Linked DNA regions of Homo sapiens: region 2 is linked to region 1. Evidence: promoter capture Hi-C in 16 types of primary human blood cells and fetal thymus (Javierre and others, 2016). All regions are on one chromosome and are shown on one strand. Each heading gives the region's core, a stretch centred on a gene start or on the middle of the fragment in contact. The rest is flanking DNA. Distances are from core to core; before and after follow the strand shown. Region 1 holds the start of ANLN (anillin, actin binding protein). Region 2 holds the start of SEPTIN7-DT (SEPTIN7 divergent transcript).

Region 1 (6,962 bases), core at 3,345-5,844:
TCCGATAATTTCCCCCCATGATACAATATGAGAACTAAAAATAAAATACTAATCCTCCCAACCAACTGAACAGATCCCCTCTTGATGAAGGGGACCCCAGAGAAACCTTAAAAACCGAGTTCTCAGCCATGATGGAACAGGAGGCCGCATGCACCTTGTTATACCCCTCCTTTTGCTGTTTAAACACAATAACTGATGAGCATTAATGTTAAATAGAGATCATAAGACTGACAGAAGACTCTTTGTAGCAATAAGATATCAAATTATAAACAGGATCAAGCCTAGGCAACAAAGCAAGATCCTGTCTCTGCAAAACATACAAAAGTTAGCCAGGCATGGTGGGGCACATCTGTAGTCCCAGCTACCTGGGGGGTGGGGTGGCTGAAGCAAAAGGATTACTTCAGCCCAGGAGTTCAAGGCTGCAGTGAGCTGTGATCGCTACTGCACTCCAGCCTGGGTAACAGAGTGAGACCCTGTCTGTAAACAAATAACTAGGACCTAAGGCCATGCCAGGCAAGGGTTAAGTCACAAACTCCCTACACTTAAAAAATAAACTATCTTCTAACTGCCAAAGTTTTTCTTTTACTCTAGTAGCTGAACAAGCACTGACCTTGAGATAAGCAATAAATATTAAAACAATTGCAGCTCATCTTCCATCAGACACTGACTAACCCTCCTGCTCCACAAGCTACAGCTACAGCTTTAATTGGACAAGAGATTGATTTCAATAAATCTATCTCAGTAAGAAGACCACCAACCATGAACTGATTCTGGCCAGTTTACAGAGGCTGCTCACTTGAATGCCTTCATGTCCCCACCTCACCTTTTGACATATAGGGCCCAACTGTAATGTATTTCCACGTTAAGTCTTCATCCCAAAGTGAACATGGGATGCATGTAACTGCACGTTTGTTCAGTACCCACCCATCAGGACCCCTTTGTAAATACTCATAGCTCTGCCTATAACCTGTTGAATATGTATACCTGGCTAACCCTTTAGGCATAAATCCCTGTTCCAGCTTCTCCTCTCTTGAAGTGCCTGTTTCCAGTCTCTGCCCGAAGCTATTAAATATGTTTCCCAGCCTGTCAGGATGGCCACACTGTAGGCTGTAAGCCTTTATAAGAAAGTCTCTGCTGGGCACAGTGGCTCATGCTTGTAATTCCAGCACTTTGGGAGGCCAAGGCAGGCGGATCACTTGAGGCTAGGAATTTGAGACCAGCTTGGCAAACACGGTGAAACCCCATCTCTACTAAAAATACAAAAATTAGCCAGTTATGGTGGTGCATGCCTGTAGTCCCAGCTACTTGGGAGGCTGAGGCAGGTGAATCACTTGAACCTGGGAGGCAGAAGTGACACCGAGCCAAGATCGCACCATTGAGCTCCAGTCTGGGCGAGAACGAGACTCTGACTCAAAAAAAAAAACGAAAAAAGAAAAAAGAAATAATGTCTCCTTTCTAAATTAATAAATTTGTAATTTTTCAATTGCTATATCTCTCACTTCCCAGATACAACACTAGCCTAATTATATTCATTCGTGGACATGCCCACATTCCATTCTGGTCAGTTAGAACATTTGTGAGTCAGTACAGCTTCAGTTACCATGAGCAGTAGGTCACAACAAAAGAATGTGATTTTGTCATTCAAACGTATATGAATGTTCTATTGCTTACATTAGATTCAAAAATTCCCAGATTAAAAAAAAATTAAATAGATACACAAAAAAAGATCCCTAATCTGTGAAGTAAAGCTATAAACACCAAAGGTTATTAAATTAAAAGAAATTATATATCTTAAATATATAAACTCAATAGCTCAATAAATGTAAGTAGCCGTTCCTTATAATAGTATATCAGGAATTTTAAAACTCTTTTAAATACAAGGTATATTCCTTGAAATATCACACCTTTCTCAAACAGTGTAGGCATTAAAAAAAAAAAAAAACCACTGCAATAACATATTCAAGAAGTAGGATAGCCCACATGTATGAATCTCAGGTAACTGAAGCTTATAGTCCCTGAACAACTTTTGCCACATACACCCCAAAGTCATCTCTGACAAATTTTTCTAGGAGATTTTACTAATTTCCTTGCCTTCTTTAACACAGTAGACTCAATATAAATTAACTTCTTATTATTTTCAATATGCTCTAGCAGCTCTTCCCCAGGGAACTTCATTTAATTCTGGAAAATAAGAGAAATTCCACTAAAAATGGTAGTGGCATGTTTATTTGCATACTTATTTATATGCAGCCTGCAGACATAAAAGGATCTAAAGCGTCTACAATAAAATATGCTTCTGTGAAGTATTTTAATTATAGCTTTTTCTCTTTTAAGGTTTTTATAAAGAAAGTTCTGGATTGGTACACTTCACTCTGGGTTTCTTTGTAGTATTCTTGTACTGGGATGACTATCACCTGTGAGTAGAGCTTCAAACTCTTGACGTTATGAGTAGTGAGTTTATGGTTTTGTCACCTGGGCGACACTGCGAGACTCCGTCTTAAAAAAAAAAAGAGTGCCAGAACAGTATCAGCGACCACAGGGAGGAAGACCAATGCAGAACAGTCTTGTTTGAGGAAAAGAGAGTTTACCATGATTGTAACCTTTCTCAACTGGAGTTACCAAAATAATTAAGCCCTAATACGCTGGCGTTAATATGATAGACTTATTTCCTATGTTTGTAGGGTGGCATTGAATTATCCTTGGGAGAATTGAGAAAATAGTCTCTCAATTTTCCTGTGTACCATGGTTCTGAGAGGAAACCCTGGTTGAGAGAGTCATTTTATACTGACTTTCAGTTGATAGACAACTGTACCAGTAGCTCATTTCACTGTGCAAATGTTATGAATGCTATAATTAAGCACCCAAGAGTTGGAATCAATTCAAGTAGTTCATTCATTACCTATTAAGGAAAAGACGTCTAAGCTGTTTTTCCAACTGCAAGTGATCTAACTTTTCATAATATAAACCATACATATTTCTGAGCACATCCTAAAACGATCTAAACAGGTAAAGTTTCTTTCAGTTGAGATTTGTACTACCTTCAGAATGACATTTTTAAGTAAAATGAAGTGCAATTTTCAGCCAACTTAAAAATGCTTTGTTCCTGTCTGTTACTTAGGAAGACACATAGGGCTAATGTTTTAAGGAATCGTATTCTAGTTTAGATAAAATAAATACACGCTTTTCGACCTCAGTGTAAGTGAAAGATACTTGGTGCATGACCAGCCCTATTTTAAGGCTAATACAAAAATAGGCTCTAGATTTTTCTATTAGAACCTTTAAGGAAGGTGAAAAAAATTGATGTATTTGTCCCAAGATGATTAAGAATTTGAAACAGAAAAATAGATTATGTCATGCTTGAATATAAGTAAACTCTAATTGCTGAAATCTGTAATTAATATCTCATACATAACTTATAGAATTATAATTACATCTCCCCGAAAGAATTACCACTCTTCACAGCATTTAAGTTTTTGAATCAGTGTAAACAGTTTTAGGTCCACTTTGCAACACTCAAAAACTAACAGTTTGAAATTTGCACAACAGCCTAAAGAAAGAGGAACTGTCCTGGAATAAAAGAGAGTGGACAACTGGCAACAAAACACTCCTGAATGTGACAACGCACATTCTCCACAAAAGCTAAAACTAGAGAAATCGACACAATAACCATGTAACCCATATGCAATCTCAAAGGAACAAAAGATGAAATAAGTACTGTAATGATATGCCCCAGAAACACCGAAAAGTTTATTTCTTTGCTCTAAAATCGTGAGCTGATAGTTTTGCTCGGTACACTTGCATTGTTTCAATTAAAATGGTCAGTCCCGGGTATGAACTTCTTCGTTAGTTAGCTGAACAATGGGATCTCAAGGAACTACTGGCTTTTTATGAACGAATGCAGTGGTTTCTAGCACCTGCTTATTTTAACGTTTTGCTGTCATTTCATTAGCATCTCCCCTGCGGGCTGCGTGAACTCCGCAAATCACACATCCTACTGCCTTTCCCGGCGGCAGCCGCACTGAGTCACCGGCCCCGGACCCCGCCCTGCAGGGCATTCCAGCTGCTTCCAGCAGGACCCGTTCCGCAGGCCTGCGCCTCACTCTTGCTGCGCCAGGACTGCAGAGGGACATGGTAAAAACGGGGGCTGAAAGACCTCTCGCAACAGCCTTTTAGGACAGACTCAAAGCCTTCCTCCCTGAGTTTTATCTGTAGGACCGAAACAACAAAATCTCAGAGGAACCCACCAACCACAGCAGGCCGCAGCCGCGGCGACCCCGGCCCGCACACACTGCGCACGCGCGCACACACGCGCCCTCCGCCCGGTGGGGGTTCGCCCAGAGGTTGACAGAGGAAGGTGGGTGGGGGCCTAGAGCGGTGGGTCATGGCTGGCTGCACCCGCAAACTCACTCACCTCCGTAAACGGATCCATCGCCCCAGGCGTCGGACTACGAGACGATGGAAACGGTGGTTCAAATTCAGGAAGAGAAAAGTGAGTCTCAGCTCAGTGTGTCTCCTGGAAAAAACCAGGAGTCTGAGGCGGGGGAACTCTCCCACAACCAGCTGTCCTCTCCTCTCGGCTTCCAGTGACGGACTCGGCCTCTGCAGCCGTTCAAATTTGAATTTCAGCGCCGAGCCGCGAGCATGCGCGCTGGGCGGAGCCGGGGCGCCCTCTCCCCGCCCCTGCGCTCGGTCACGTGGCCGCGCCGGGCCGGGTGGTTCCCAGGGGCGGCCCCGCCTCCTTCCCGGCCCCCTCCCAGCCCTCGCCGCGGGGTGGAGGCGGGCAGCGGGGCGCTTCCTGCTCTCCAACGGCGTCGGGTTCCTGGCTCCACCCCCAACAACCACACATTCCCCTCAGCTTTAAGGCGATTGCTTCACACCAACCGCGTTTGGGTGTTCCCGCCTTCCTTCATTCCTAAATAAAGTATTAAGGCCGGGAGTAGTGGCGCATGCTTATAATCCCAGCATTTGGGGAGGCTGAGGCTGGAGGATCGCTTGAGCCCAGGAGGTCATGGCTGCAGTGAGCTGCGATCTCACTACTGCACTCCAGCCTGGGCGGCAGAGTGAGACCCTGCCTCAAAAAAGAAAAAAAAAGGATTAAGAGCCCTTGTGTTGGCAGGACATAATCCCAGCACTGTGGGAGGCCGAGGCGGGCAGATCACGAGGTCAGGAGTTCAAGACCAGCCTTGCCAACATGGTGAAACCCCGTCTCTACTAAAAATACAAAAAAATTAGATAGGCATGGTGGCGCGTGCCTCTAATCCCAGCTACTCGGGAGGCTGAGGCAGGAGAATTGCTTGAACTGGGACCCGGGAGGTGGAGGTTGCAGTGAGCAGAGATCACACCACTGCATTCCAGCCTGGGCTACAGAGCCAGACAAAGAGCCCTTGTGTTTCAGGTGCTGCTAGCCCGTTGGCCTTCAGTAGCTTTGTTTCCTAGGTCACACCCAACTCCTAGTCCCCAAAAGGGGGACTGCAGGCCTGGCCCTCAGAAAAGCCAGTTCCGGTGGGTCCCCGACACTCTAAGCCAATGAAATAAAGCTAAAATTAACAGACTGTGTGAAGCGTTCATGCACAATTTTTTATTTTAAATTCCATCCAACTGTGTACAGTGTTAGAGCGGGAGGAATTCTGACAAGCCCTCTATCTAGTTCAATCCTTCCTTTTACTGCCGAGAGAAGGGACACCCGAAAACGTTAAAGAAACTGGTCCAAAGAAATGAAAACCCTGTTCTCAGCTCATGACCCGTTTTCCACACTAGCTAAGGCTGTGTCTCCTGCTTATTCTTTGTAGAGTACTCCAAATTGTAAGATAGGTTACATAATTTCTGTATCAGATTCATTTCTTCTATAACAAGTCTGTGCAGGTAAAGATGACAGTTCTTGATTTGTTCATCTGAAAAGTTAAGAGTGACTGTCCATGAGCTGAACAAAACAGAACTATTCCTCCCAACTGAGTGGTTTCAATATGTTTAATAATATGTCCATCTTAGCAGTCAATCAACATTACAAAAAGAATTTACTAATATTTTTAATTTGAATTTTTGTATGATAAATTGTACGTGACTGAAATCACGGCAAGAGGTAAGGGAAATATTGCTTGGGGTCAGGGCTCCACCCAGTTAGCCAAATCGGTTAACCCATGGGTTTTTTTTTTTTTTAACCTTTGTGGGGAGTCATGGACTCCTTTGGAAATATGTTAAAACTGACCCTCTACCTAGAAAAATGACCATTTAATCATAAACTATTTAACAGGATTTTGTGAAGTTCATGGACACCAGGACAAGAACTTCTGATTTAGCCTGTTTGTATTTTAGTTTACTTATCTGTGTAACAGGAATAATCATCTGCCCTGATTTCCTCAGAGTTGTTAGGAGGGGCAGATGAAAAATGGAGAGACATAATCCAAAAATATTTCATAATAAGTAATAAGACACTGTCCGAGTGTGTAGTATATGGAATTATTAATATTTAACCCAGAATGTGTTACTTATGAACAAAGGAAAAAGATACTTCCATTTTTTTCAAGTGTGACAAGAAAGGTGTGTATGTATTTGGGGCGTGTCTGTGTGTGTATGCGTGTTTTAAACAACGTTGGAAAATGAGTCATTAGAAATTTATGTAGCCGTTGTGCCTTCTGGCTATCACTTCTATGAGCCTTAGTTTCTTTGTATCTACCTCAACTAGATTCTAGTTAAGACTAAAAGAGGTAAAGCACCTAGCATAAGATAGCTACTCACAACATTTAGTGTATCTTCCCTCACCATCCCACTATGTCTTTGGTTTCTACCTTGATAATGATGATGATAGTGATAATGGCAACCATCACAATTAAATAACTCCTAAGACTGAAACACCTACTATGTGCCAGAAACTACGGTAGATATTCAAGTCTACTCTCCTAGGGTATTACAATTGTCTCCTACTATACCTCCTTTCATTCTTAACCCCCGGTAGTTCATTCTTC
Region 2 (6,962 bases), core at 1,394-3,893, 590 kb after region 1:
TGTGCAAATCTGAACAACCAATTTTATCACAAACTTCTGAAATACAATCTTTTAACACTACCTTTCATGTATTATGTATGCATCAAATATCTCCAAACCAAAGCCTGCAACAAAAATTGTTAAGCTACATTAGAAAAAGACAATATCCTTTCTTTTTAAAGGATAAGAACTAATTAAAATCAACTTAACATTTCTGTTATTTGTTGTGAATTTGAATTCTGTAAGCCTAAGATGTGGTAAAATATGTATTTTTAATAACTGTGTTATGAAGACCTGGTTCCATCATGTTGTCCCATCATAGAATAAGACAATGCTACCATGCAAATCACCTATGTAGCTTCCACATTTATTTCATAGCTTCACTCAACTCTTATCTCCTTTAGTCCCACCCACTGAACAGCTGAATGAGATGAAAGATTGTTTACTGCTCTCCCGCCACGACCGTACCACCCCCCCATCACCACCCAACCACCCCTTACTCATTCCCTTGCAGTCTGAAGAAATAAAGAATCCAAGCAGCAATAGCTGACTTGGTCATTGTTTATATCCCCCCTTCAGTCTATCAGGATTCCATAAATTTCATCCCTACCTGTACACTTTTAAGTCTAAAATACTCTCCTCCCCATGTCTGCACATAAACTTTAGGGGGAAAAACTGACTATACTCATCACCTGCATGTGCATAAATATGTAAAACAGGTTAGATGCTTAGTAATTTAGATGATCTGTTCATTTACATTCTCAGGGGCACTAACAAAGATATTTTTTCCTTTCATCAAAATAAAAAAGCCAGAAGAAAGAATTCTTAAAGCTGAACTATTTAGCAATAAACTCAAGAAATGTAGTAAGTTATTATTTCAGTAACTAAGAAAACACCTGGACGTCACAAATTCTTTCCTAGGACTGTAAAAACCCAAATTTGAAACAGTGTACTCTTCAAAAGTAACTCAGCAAATGGAAATGTCCTAGAAAAATCTCGGTTGCTTATTTCTTACTATACACACAGCTGAAATGGAACTCAGGAGTGGAAAATGTAAATGAAATGGCCTGTTCTTTTTCCAACATGTGGGGGAGGAAAGGAAATGAAAGGGCTCGTTAAGAGAATAACTGAGAATATTGAAATATTTTCAAAAATTAATTTCCCTAAACTTCGCCACTCCACATCTCCGCTCCCTCCCTTTTCCAAGGACCCTTCCCACCCTTTCTATCTCCTCCGGGGGGCGCCCTTCCCAGGCGTTCTCTTTCCCTTACTCCTAAAAATTAAGCCCAAATTCCAAACCAAACTACCGATTCTCCCTCCGTTCTCAAGACTCGCCCGCCATCCACCGGCCTTCCGGGCTGCGCCTGGAGAGAGGCAACCCCGAGAGGCGGGAGGAGGAGCGGGGAGGCGACGCGGTGACTGGAGCTGCGGCTGCAGCCGCCGCCGCCGCCTCCACCACAGCCTCAGCCTGGTGCATCCTTCTTCCTCCCTCCCCGCCGCCGCCCGCCCGGGTTGGCCCACACAGCACCCTCGCCCGAGCGTTCACACTCGTCCCCACCCTCCTAGCCAGGCCCACTGCCCCACGAGGGGACTTCTGCCGACGGGGATGCGGCCGGGGACAGGAGGAAGCGGGGCCGCGGAAGCCGGCGGGCCCGGGAGGAGACTGAGGAAAGGCGAAGGGACGGAGAGAAGCAAGGGCAGGGCTGAGACCACCACGCTCAGGCTGCTCCGGCCGCGGAGGCCGCGGCTCTGCGCCGGGGGCCAGCCCGCCGCGGCACAGGAAATGCCGCCGCCTCGGCTCTCCTCACGTTCAATTCAAACTGTCACCGCCGCCGCCTCCCCTCCCCCCGAGCCCGCCGCTGCCGCGCCCCGGGCCCGCAGTGGCCCCCATCCCGGCTCCCCTCGCCGCTGCCTCCGCCTCGCCTCAGGGCGTTCCCTAGCTCGGTCCAGCGGCCGCAGAGCTTCCCGGCATTCGGAGCCGCTGACCCCAAGTCGCGGCACCCGAAGCTGAGACTCACCCATGGTGCTGCTGTTGACGCTCCTCTCCTCAGCAGCAGCGGATCTCGCACTGACCGACATCCCCTCCCCCCCTCCGCGACCAGCCCCAGCGGAGCGCAGCCCGCCGATTCTCCAAAGGCGCCTACGCCGATTCCGCAGCGTAGCCGCCCGGCGTAGCTGCCTTGCTTACGCACGCTACAGCAGGCGGACTCCTCCACAGGCTCTCGCTCGACTCCCGCTCCCTCCTCCGTCCCCCGCCCCCTCAGACGAGGCTTCCGGGCCTAGCGGAGGCTGGCTTCCATCTCGCGAGATTACCGCCTCCCCAGCTCCGCCGCCTCGCTCCATTTCGAGCATGACTTCATTGGCGTCAGCAACGTTTTGCTGTTCGGGTTTAGCCGCCATGTTTAAGTTGGCCGGGTTTCGCACCACTGAGGTCATGGATACTCAGGCCTCTTTGCGTGTTTCTTCAACACTGCTTCTAAGGTTAACCGCGTTACATTTGTTGGAGAAAATCCTGGGAACGCTGAAAAGGACTAGTGGGTGGGGTGCGAGGGTGGGGTCTTGCCCGAATTAAAGATGGCCGCAGTCAGCTCTGCCCCGCGCAATTTCACGTCAAGTTTTGGAGCTGCGGGAGCCGGCCAGTTGGCCTCAGCGCCTCCTTACGGAATTGGCGTAAGGCAAAGAGGCGCGGCTGGAAGAACCAGACTGAGAAAGTGCCACAGGGCGGGGGCCGCATCCGCCCCTCGGCTTCTGGTTACTGACCCGACGGCTTTGTGAGTGAAAGTGAAGAGACACTTCGAGGCAGGTGTCTGTGCTCCCCATTCATCCCTGTTTCCGTGGCTATCTTGACTTTCGGGGTGAAAAGTGAGGTTAGGCCCTGTTTCCCCGACCCTTCCCTCGCGCCATCACACTCTAGTGGCCTGGCACAGCCCCAGAGGTCGGCCGCTGTAGCCCCCATTGCGGACTCGCCACATTCATATTGGCTCACCTTGTCGGTGCCCGGTTCGGTCCTCTTGGAGCTCACACTCCAGTTGAGGAAATGAATGGACACAGGAACTACTGGGTAACAAAATACTAATAAAGGGCTGCGATTGTGTGAGTTTCTACTGTAGCGATGAATGTCGCTGTCATTGGAACGTTCCCCAAGTGCCTTCTAGTGAAAGCCTTACTTCACTCGGAATAACCTGTGGTCTTTTCTTGAACGTGATGGCTCTCTTGGTTGTATTCTTCATGCACATGTGTTACTTTTCCTGTTTAACTACATGTTAAAGAAATGTGTATGTTCCTGTTTAACTGCATGTTTTAAAAAAGTATGTGTATTTTTAAGTTATAGGCACGTGCAAGAAAGTTCAGAGCAAAATAGCTTATATTAGTGAAACAATAAATGTCTACTAATAGGAGAATGGATGAATAAGTGTCATTGTTGAACAAATTGACATACAACACGAACCAAAAAATCAGTGAACTAAAGCTACCATTTTTCATATGGATAGAGTCATTAACCTAATATTGAGGAAGAAATGAAAAGACAGGTTGCGGAAAGATATATATGACATACCATAAATAAAAGTTTAATAATTACAAAAAAGTAAGATCAAACTAAAAATTGTATAAGGAAATGATAGATACCAAATTCAGAATACTGGTTGCTTCCAGAGATGAACAGAAGGGAATGTAACAAGAAGGGTTCATTTGTATCTATAACGTTTGTTTTCTACCAGAAATATCTTGAAAATGTGGCAAAACATTAAGCTAAGTAGAGGGCACATGGGTGTTCACTTGTAATTATTTCCTTTACTGTTCTATATACTTGAAATATTTCCAAGTAATTTTTTTTAAGAAAAGAAACTTATAGAAGCAACTTATTTTGTATCTTGATATATGCCATTTCGTAAGTCTACATTTTTACTGAACTGCTTATGAAGTCTGTTGCAACTTATCTGTTCAATCATTGTTTTAAGTTTCTGAAACTTCAAATGAACTTTTACTTTGGGAAATTTTGTTGAATTTCTATTTTTGAAAAAAAGCAGTGTACCAAGGAGGGTAAATGTATATAGCCTCCGGAGTCAGACTGCCTGAGTTCAAATCCCAGCTCTCCATTTATTAGGCTTGCAACCAAGAACAAGTTACTTAAACTTTCCTGTGATCCAGTTTCCTCATCTATAAACGGAGATAATACTTATCTAACAGGATTTTGATAAGAGTTAAATAGACTAATACATGAACACGGTGCTTAGTCAATGCTTAGTAAATATTACCTAAATATAGATTATTTTAAAATATAAAATTAAAGCAAATACTTATATTAATATAACCTAATAGTCTAAAGGAAGTAAATCTTTGCCTCCCATCTCTATTGATAATATTTCTTTGAGGAAGATCTCTTAATGGGTATGAAAGAGGTGAATTGTGTTATTTTGTGCTATGAAAATGGATAAATTCTTAATAGAAACTATATTAAATTCCTTGTCTGAAGTTTGTTCATGTTCACCCCACACTATGATAGCTTCACTACTTTTCATTGAAAATCACACAGAGTGGCCGGGCGCGGTGGCTCACGCCTGTAATCCCAGCACTTTGGGAGGCCGAGGCAGGCAGATCGCCTGAGGTCAGGAGTTCGAGACCAGCCTGGCTAACATGGTGAAACCCCGCATCTACTAAAAATACAAAAAATTAGCCGGGTGTGGTGGCGGTACCTGTAATTCCTGCTACTCGGGAGACTGAGGCAGGAGAATCACTTGAACCCAGGAGGCGGAGGTTACAGTGAGCCCAGATAGCACCACTGCACTCCAGCCTGGGCAACAAGAGCGAAATTCCGTCTCAAAAAAAAAAAAGAAAAAATTATACGGAGTGTTACAGGCAATGAAATAATGATATTCTGAGGAACTTTCTTTGTAGGGAGGTTTCATAGCCAATGTTCTATAATGTATATACATGTGTTATGCAAATTATACGTGGTGCACGAGGAAAGAGAATTGTATTGATCTTATGATCTCTTTATTGCACTTATTTGCAATATTTATGATCTCTTTATTGCATTTATTTGTTAATAAAATATAGCCTAGACTTTACTGACTCAGAAACAGATTTAAAAAAACTGATCTGAAATTCTGGACAGACCATATAGATGGTTTCCACCACATATTTACAGCGTCCAAACTCACGTGGGCCTTCAACTTTACCAAGCAATGCTTGTTTCCCTAGTTGGCTCTCTCTTAATTTCCACAACAGCCACTTCTGATTTTCTCCTTATTTTTCAAACCACTCCCCTCACTTATTCTCAAATAAGAGAATAGAAAAAAATAGAAACCATCAAAGAGGAACTCAGGCTGAGCGTGATGGCTCATGCCTGTAAACCCAGAACTTTGGAAGGCCGAGGCAGGCACATCACCTGAGGTCAGGAGTTCGAGACCAGTCTGGCCAACATGGTGAAACCCTGTTTCTACTAAAAATACAAAAATTAGCCGGATGTCTTGGCGGGTGCCTGTAATCCCAGCTACTAGGGAGGCTGAGGCAAGATAATTGCTTGAACCCAGGAGGCAGAGGTTGCAGTGAGCCAAGATCGTGCCACTGCCAGCCCTGGTGACAGAGCGAGGCTCCGTCTCAGAAAAAAAAAACAGGAACTCCAACAATTTTATGTCTCCATACTCATTCTTTCAAGCTTCACGGTAGATTAGGTGCCCCCCTGTCTGAGGCACATATCTCTGCCAGTTCCCTGTATTCCATCTCTTTGTGCTCGTTCTCTAGATTCTCACTCCTCCTGCCTTTCCAGGAACTGCAGTCAATGGGTTCTTTATTCAACAAGCTTCTGGGTTCTGCAACTACCACTCCACTGAAATTCTCAACGAGGTCACCAAGAACCTCTTGTGTTCAATCCAGTAGACCCTTTGTCTTATTTTCCTTGACCTCTCTGCAGCATTTGATACTAGAACCCTTGGCCTTCTGCATTCATATGCCTTGATTTGTGAAACCACACTTTCCTAGTTTTTCTCCTAGATCTCTGTGTCTCTATTTTACCTTTCAGGACCCCCTTCTGGCTGTCAAATATCCATGAACCCCAAAGTTGTGTGCAATTTGTTTCTATCTCACTTTTTACATTATCCTTTATGTGGTCTCATTCACCTTCATGGCTTCAGCCGCCGTATATACACTAGTAACTCCTAATGCAAGTTTCTAGTCCAGTTCTCTCTTCTGACTACAAACCTATATGTCTTACTGCCTTCAAAATATCTGTCCTGGATGTTCCAAGATATCTCAAAAATCCCAAACTAAACTCTTTATTTTACCAGCTTTTATGTTTCTAATCTCTAAAAGTGGGTATCATCAACCCGCTTTTGTAAACCAGAAATATGGGTATTTACTCAGCCCGTCTCTCTCTGTCAGCCATTAGAAAGCCCTATCAGTTTTTCCTTCTCAACTCTAATTTTCCATTTCTCTCCGCTTCATTACTATTCTACTTAAGCCATAATTATCTCCTGCCTCAACTCCTTGCAGTAGCTTTTCTGGCCGGTAATACTGCAACTCATCCTTTACATCGTACCCAGAGTGACCTTTCTAAACTTTAACTATGTCAGTCCCCTGTTTAAAGTCTTAAAATTTTCCTTGAAGAAACTTGCATGACACATTCCCTCATTTCTGGCTAATCTGCTATACCTTGCTCACCCTAAATCCTAGTAAGCCCTGCTGCTCCCACTTCACTCTCCTTTTTACATTTGCATTCCTTACCTGGTTTTTCCTTTAAGTCTCAGCTTAACCACTATTTTCTCTAAAAGTCTTCCTTGATCACCAAAAACTAGGCTAGGTACCCTCTCACCTCCCATAGTATCTTGTGTTTTCTCCTATGGTAGTTCTAGTAGCAGAGTTTTGTAAATACTTGTCTCCTATTTAAGAGAGACAAATTTAAGTCTAAACTCCTTAAAGTCAAGATCTCTTGTCTTGTCCACCTCTGTAGCCTCAGCACCTGGCCCAGGATATGGTATTCATTA

What was found. The method cuts DNA at HindIII sites, captures the fragments that hold promoters and counts their contacts. A CHiCAGO score of 5 or more calls a contact.
Region 2: a contact is called between the fragment with the promoter of SEPTIN7-DT here and the fragment with the promoter of ANLN in region 1, in 1 of 17 cell types (fetal thymus). The highest score is 9.1, in fetal thymus.

What each region holds. Positions count from the first base shown.
Region 1 is chr7:36,387,494-36,394,455 of GRCh38, reverse strand. It overlaps ANLN (anillin, actin binding protein), which reads right to left and starts at 4,594. Exons shown (of 24, transcript NM_018685.5): 1 at 4,412-4,594. The coding sequence starts at 4,429. It also overlaps a transcript of MATCAP2 not described here. RefSeq lists enhancers at 3,768-4,358, 4,359-4,949 and a silencer at 4,540-4,949. The HindIII fragment of the contact is 7,726 bases long and covers 2,008-6,962 here.
Region 2 is chr7:35,796,306-35,803,267 of GRCh38, reverse strand. SEPTIN7-DT (SEPTIN7 divergent transcript) reads left to right here and starts at 2,643. Exons shown (of 5, transcript NR_120512.1): 1 at 2,643-2,778. It overlaps SEPTIN7 (septin 7), which reads right to left and starts at 2,211. Exons shown (of 14, transcript NM_001788.6): 1 at 1,998-2,211. The coding sequence starts at 2,058. RefSeq lists silencers at 1,300-1,749, 1,780-2,019 and enhancers at 2,170-2,559, 2,174-2,797, 2,920-2,979. The HindIII fragment of the contact is 5,766 bases long and covers 1-5,640 here.